Regions from separate parts of the Homo sapiens genome. Here region 1 is linked to region 2. Evidence: promoter capture Hi-C in human tissues and cell types (Jung and others, 2019). All regions are on one chromosome and are shown on one strand. Each heading gives the region's core, a stretch centred on a gene start or on the middle of the fragment in contact. The rest is flanking DNA. Distances are from core to core; before and after follow the strand shown.

Region 1 (3,087 bases), core at 320-2,819, 550 kb before region 2:
GCCCCAACAACCTGGACCACTTATCTCAGGATCGTTACATGAGAAAAAAACACTTATGTGAAGCTGCTGTATTTGGGGACAGCTTTGTGACAGCACCTTAGCCTCATCCCCAACTAACAGAGACCCATTTAATAATGCTCCCGTCCAGGGATATGTCCAGTACATTAATCCTAGTTCTCAACTTCCTCCAGTCTTAACCTCTCTTTGGGTCTCTTCTAGGGTCTATGGTTTATCATTATCACTATCTCTTTGCCAATACCTGGAACTCCATAACCCCTCTTTGACTTCATCTTATTTGCCTGGCAAAACCCATCTGTCTTGGTGCCTGCACTCAAGTATCTGAAGATCACTGACAAATTCGTACAGCTGAGCTGAGCAGTGCCACTGTTCTCAAACATCAAAGGGACTCGACACGGAAAACTCTACTGTTTTTCTAACACGAACAGTTTCTTTCTTCTCCTCTTTCTCAAGGTAACTATTTCACTTCTTTTCCTCTTTCTTCAAATTTCCTATTTCCCTTTCTAGATTCATTCTCATTTGATTTGGTAACCTTGCCTGACTATTTATTGAGAGAATTAATGCCTTCAGTCACACAGACACCTTTTCATCTTTCCTCCACAAAATCTGCAAACCCATCTGCTTCTTCCTACTTTGGAGATGTTGTCCCTACTTCTCTCAAGGGTGTCTTTTTTTTCTCTCTCTTCTTTCTTCTTTTCTTCTTCTCCTCCTTCTTCTTCCCCTTCTTCTCTTTCTTCTCCTTCTTTTCCTCCTTCTCCTTCTTTTTAAGACAGGGTCTCGCTCTGTCACCAAGACTGGAGTGCAGTGGTGCAATCATGCCTCAATCTCCTGGGCGAAGCGACCCTCCCACCTCAGCCTCCTGACTAGCTGGGGCCACAGGCATGGGCCACCACCCATGCCTGGCTATGTTTTTTTGTCTTTTGTTTTTTGTAGAGACACAGTGTCTCTATGTTGCCCAGGCTTGTCTTGAACTCCTGGACTCAAGAGCTCCTCCTGCTTCAGCCTCCCAAAGTGCTGGGATTACAGATGTGAGCCACTGTGCCTGGCCTCAGAATGTCTTGATTCTGAATCTCTACCTCTTTTACTTTATCAAAGTGTTTCCTTCTCTACTGGGTCATTTCCCACCACTTTAAAAACATTTCTAATATCCACTCTCCACCCCCAACACACACACAAACAAAACAAAAGTAAACTAATGGCTGTATTAGTTTTCTATTGCTGTGTAATACATTACCACAAACTTAGTGGCTTAAAAGAACACACATTTGCCAGGCGTGGTGGCTCATGCCTGTAATCTCAGTACTTTGGGAGGCTGAGGTGGGTAGATCACCTGAGGTCAGGAGTTTGAGACCACCCTGGTCAACATGGCGAAACCGTCTCTACTAAAAATACAAAAATTAGCCAGGTGTGGTGGCGCGCACCTGTAATCCCAGCTACTTGGGAGGCTGAGGCAGGAGAATCTCTTGAACCCAGGAGGTGGAAGTTGCAGTAAGCCGAGATTGTGCCATTGCACTCCAGCCTGGGTGACAGAACGAGACTCCGTCAAAAACAAACAAACAAACAAACAAACAAACAAAAAACACATTTATTGTGTCACAGTTTCTGTGGGTCAGAAGCCCAGCATGTTTTGAGTCCTCTGCTTAGCATCTTACCAGGCTGAAATCAAGGAACTAGCCCAGACTGTGACCCCAGCTGGGGCTCAGGGTCATCTTCCAAGCTTATTGGTTGTTGCAGAATTCAGTTTCCTGCAATTGGAGGACTGAGGTTTCTACTTTCTTGCTGGCTGCCAACAGGGGCCATTCGTAGCTCCTAGAGGCCACCAGTTGCTCACTGACATGTGACCCCCTTCACAAGAGGACAGTTTGCTCCTTCAAGGCCAGCAGTAAAGCGCTCTGTAAAAGGCTCACCTGATTAGGTCAGGCCCACCAAGATGAGTTTCTTCTGATTAATTCAAAGTCAACTGATTAGGGGCCTTAATTATATTTGCAATATTCACCTTTGCTATATAATGTAACCTAATCACAGCAATATCCCACCATACAGGTTCTGCCTGTATACCGTCAAGGGGAGGGGATTATACATGTCTTGTACAACAAAAGGCAGGAATCTTGGAGGCCATCTTACAATTCTGCCAACCACAACACACACCATACCACACACACATCACACACCACATACACCTCACACACCACCCCCACACACCACAAAGATCACACACACCACACCACACACACACCACATACCACACAGCCCACACACTGCACCACACATACACACCACACACATACCACATACCCCACATACCACACACACAGACACCACACACACCACATCCATACACCACACCACACACACTACACACCACACATCCCACATACCACACACACCACACACTACACACATACACACACCCCACACACCCCATACACACCCTGCACACCACACACATCACACACAGAGACACCGCCTATCCCACACACACCACACACCCCACATATCACACCACACACACCACATCCACACACACCACACACACACACAGCATACACAACACCCATAGACACCACACACCACACACACACCTCACGTACCAAACACCACACACACAACCACACACCACACACCAAACACACACCCCACACATACCTCACACCACAGACACACACCACCCCCCGCCACACAACACACACACACACACACACACACACACACACACACACACACACACAGCAGGTGCTCTGGACCTATCTGTCAAATTGCATGGGGCAGCTGAGCCTCAGTTTTCTTTGAGAGTCTCACTCTTGTCACCCAGACTGGAGTGCAGTGGCACGACCTTGGCTCACCGCAACCTCCGCCTCCTGGGTTCAAGCAATTCTCCTGCCTCAGCCTCTTGAGTAGGTGGGATTACAGGCATGCGCCCCAGCTAATTTTTGTATTTTTAGTAAAGACAGGTTTCACCATGTTGGCCAAGCTGGTCTCAAACTCCTGACCTCAAGTGATCTGCCTGCCTCGGCCTCCCAAAGTGCTGGGATTACAGGTGTGAGTCACTGCACCCAGCCCAGTTTTCTT
Region 2 (3,174 bases), core at 599-3,098:
TCATCACCACAGTCGGAAGGATGCCAAGGACATCAGGGCCCCTGAGAGTACACACCCGAGGGGCGGCCAACTGGATGCAGCACCAGAGAGGGTGTGAGACAGATTTTAACTCTGCTGACCTCCCCAGTATGGGCTCTCATCAGAGCCATAAACTATTTAGACGCCAACTGTGTGCTGGTCCCTGGAGGCCCTGTCAGTGAGAGCCGGGCAGTCTGGTCCCCCTCCATGCTTTTTGTTGTTGTTGTTGTTTACAGACAAAATCTCACTCTCTCATCCAGGAGCTCTCACTGCAGCCTTGAACTCGTGGGCTCCAGCGATCCTCCGGCCTCAGCCTCTGGAGTAGCTGGGACTACAGCAGGTGCCACCACTTCCAGCCTTCTGGCTAACTATATTTTTTTGTAGAGACAGGACGGGGGTCTCCCTGTGCTGCCCAGGCTGGCCTCCTCTGCATGTTTTTGAGAAGGTGAAGGGGAGGCTCGCTGAGTCAGGGATAGCCCTTAACCCTTCAGGACACTCAGCAAAAACTGCTTTCTGCACCTGATTCTCGTGGGGGAAGAGTGGACACAAGGATCATTTCTCACCATAGTTCAGATGAGGAAAGTGAGGCCCAGAGAAGCCCTGTAACTTGCCCACAGTCACACAGCAATTAAGGGCCCAGTCTTGCTAAGAACCCAGGTCTCTCAAACAGCAGATCCTCCACCCCAGGATCCCTGAACACAGCGGCATCGCCTCCTACCTCGGTCGGGAAGCCCACCCCCCACCCACCAGACCGAGGATTCCAAAAGGGGGCGAAGGCGGAGAGCAAAGGGGGCTGCGCCCACCCGGAGCCCCGCGGCGGCCCAGCGCGGCCCGCCCTCTCGTTGCCTTGGAGGCAGCCCCTGCGGGCACTCGCGGTCAAAGGCAGGATTTCCGTCGGGGCGGCAGCAATTCCCGGATCCAGCGGGGAGCGCGGGCCGAGACCGCCGCGGGCGCGGAGGGGGCGCCCGGAGAGGCCTGTCCCTGCCGAGGGCGGGGACTTCCCCAGGAAGCGGGGACCCACGCCTCGCGCGCCCGGCAGGAGTCCCCTGCAGCCCGGAACCTACCGCAAGGGCGGGCCGAGAGGGTCGCGGGGCCGCGGTCGCGGCCGCTAACGTTACCCTGCGGGCTGTGGGCTTCACCCCGACTTCGGCCGGCTCGGAAGAGGGGAACTTCCTGGACCCGCAATTGCACCCCAGGTTCTCCGTCCTCCAGAAGTCGTTCTCCTCAACCCCCTTCCCGCCAGCTCCCTCTCCTGTTCCCTCCAGCACCCCCACCCATTTCCCCTCTCCTGGACCCATCAGACCCGTCGGCTTCTCCCCAAAGTCCCACTCTCACGATCCCTTCAGTTTCTCCCCCAGACCGTCCTGGGGATTCCCCTTAATCCTTCTCCCCCACCTCAGCCCCCTTCCTAAACTCTTATCAGTCCCCTCCATTTTACCCACTAGACCTTTTTGGGGGTCCCTTTGGTCGGCTTCCCCCGTGCTCCCCTCCGCCCTCTCCTCCAGGTTTATCAGCCTTGCTTTTCAGGTCGCCCGTTTTCCTCCTTAGGCCTTTTCGGGCTGGGGTCCCTTTGGCTGTCACCTTGCTCATGTGTCCCCCGACCCCCAGGTTCAGGCTTCTCTTCCCGTGTACCCCCAGTCCTCTCTCCAGAGCCTCGAGGGGGAGGGCACTGCTTGACCTGCCCAGTCCCCACCCGACGCTGTCGCTTACCTGGAGCCCAATTCTGCCCGGCCCCGGGGTGAGCCAGCCGGGGCTCCAGCAGCCGCGAGTGCCGGCGTGCGGGGAGAACTGGGGTGCTGCCCGCCTCTGACCGCCGCCCCTGCTGGGCAGGGAGGAGGAAGCCGCCTCGGACTTCTCTTATTGCAGTCACGGCCGGCGGGCGGTGATGGTGGCAGGGAGACAGTCACGCCCTAGCCCCAAGCCAGCTCCCCGCAGCGAGGAGGCGCCCCCAGATCCTAGGCCCACCCGCCCCCACCTTCCTCCTCCCTGGTTTACGGGAGGTCGGCTCTGTCACCCTCCAGACCTGAGTCCCCAGCCCGGCCTTCCCAAAAGCCCCCTCCAAAAGCGCAGTTTCAGCACCCCCGAAGCACCTGCTCTTTTAGGATCATTGAATTGGAGGTTAAGAGGGGCTTTTCTCCATCACTGAGGACCAGATCGGGACTGGCCTTACTCGAGTTCTCACAGCCAGTTGACTTCAGACTGCTGTCACCAGAGCCACTGGACATGGATCACATGGACCCTGTCAGCACGCCTTCCCTTCCTCAGGGGCTGAGCACTGGGGACACAGGGCTGTTAAGGGTGGTGAGCAGCAGAAGACCCTTCCCTTAGGAAACTGCCTTTCAGAGGAGTGGGAAGGGTGTCAGCCTCCCCCAGGCACCCAAGTTTTAGAAAAACTGAGTAACTGGCTGGGGGCAGTGGCTCAGCCTGTAATCCCAGCACTTTGGGAGGTTGGGTGGGAGGATTGCTTGAGCCCAGGAATTCCAGACCAGCCTAGGCAGCATAGGGAGACACCATCTCTACCAAAAAAAATTTTTCTTAAGTTAGCTCGGTGTGGTGGTGTGCACCTGTGGTCCCAGCTACTGCAGAGGCAGAGGTGGAAGGATCCCTCGAGTCAGGCAGGTCGAGGCTGCAGTGAGCTGTGATTGAGCTACTGCACTCTACCTTGGGTGACAGAGCAAGACCCTGCCTTAAAAAAAAAAAACACAAAAAAAGAATGTGGGTTTTGTTGCAGAAAATGACTTTTTTTAAAAAAAAGAAAGAAAAGGCCGGGTGCAGCGGCTCACGCCTGTAATCCCAGCACTTTGGGAGGCCGAGGCGGGTGGATCACGATGTTAGGAGATCAAGACCGTCCTGGCTAACACAGTGAAAGCCCATCTCTACTAAAAATCAAAAAATTAGCCGGGCGTGGTGGCGGGCGCCTGTAGTCTCAGCTACTCAGGAGGCTGAGGCAGGAGAATGGTGTGAACCCGGGAGGCGGAGCTTGCAGTGAGCCGAGATGGCGCCACTGCACTCCAGCCTGGGCGACAGAGCGAGACTCCGTCTCAAGAAAAAAAAAAAAAAAAAAAAAAAGGAAGAAAAACTGAGTATCTTAGAACATGTGGAAAAAGATTTTTAAAAACAAAAAGAGAAACGGTAGCATCCTCTATCAGTTCCAGT

The links. The method cuts DNA at HindIII sites, captures the fragments that hold promoters and counts their contacts. A contact is called where the count stands out against the background at its distance.
Region 1: a contact is called between a fragment that was not itself captured here and the fragment with the promoter of FGR in region 2, in 1 of the 25 tissues and cell types used here (neural progenitor cells).

Annotation. Positions count from the first base shown.
Region 1 is chr1:27,084,330-27,087,416 of GRCh38, forward strand. No RefSeq gene overlaps it. Among named protein-coding and RNA genes, the nearest start is that of SLC9A1, 69 kb to the right of the region's middle. The HindIII fragment of the contact is 7,329 bases long and covers 1-3,087 here.
Region 2 is chr1:27,633,337-27,636,510 of GRCh38, forward strand. FGR (FGR proto-oncogene, Src family tyrosine kinase) reads right to left here and starts at 1,849. Exons shown (of 13, transcript NM_005248.3): 1 at 1,729-1,849. RefSeq lists a silencer at 925-974. The HindIII fragment of the contact is 29,896 bases long and covers 1-3,174 here.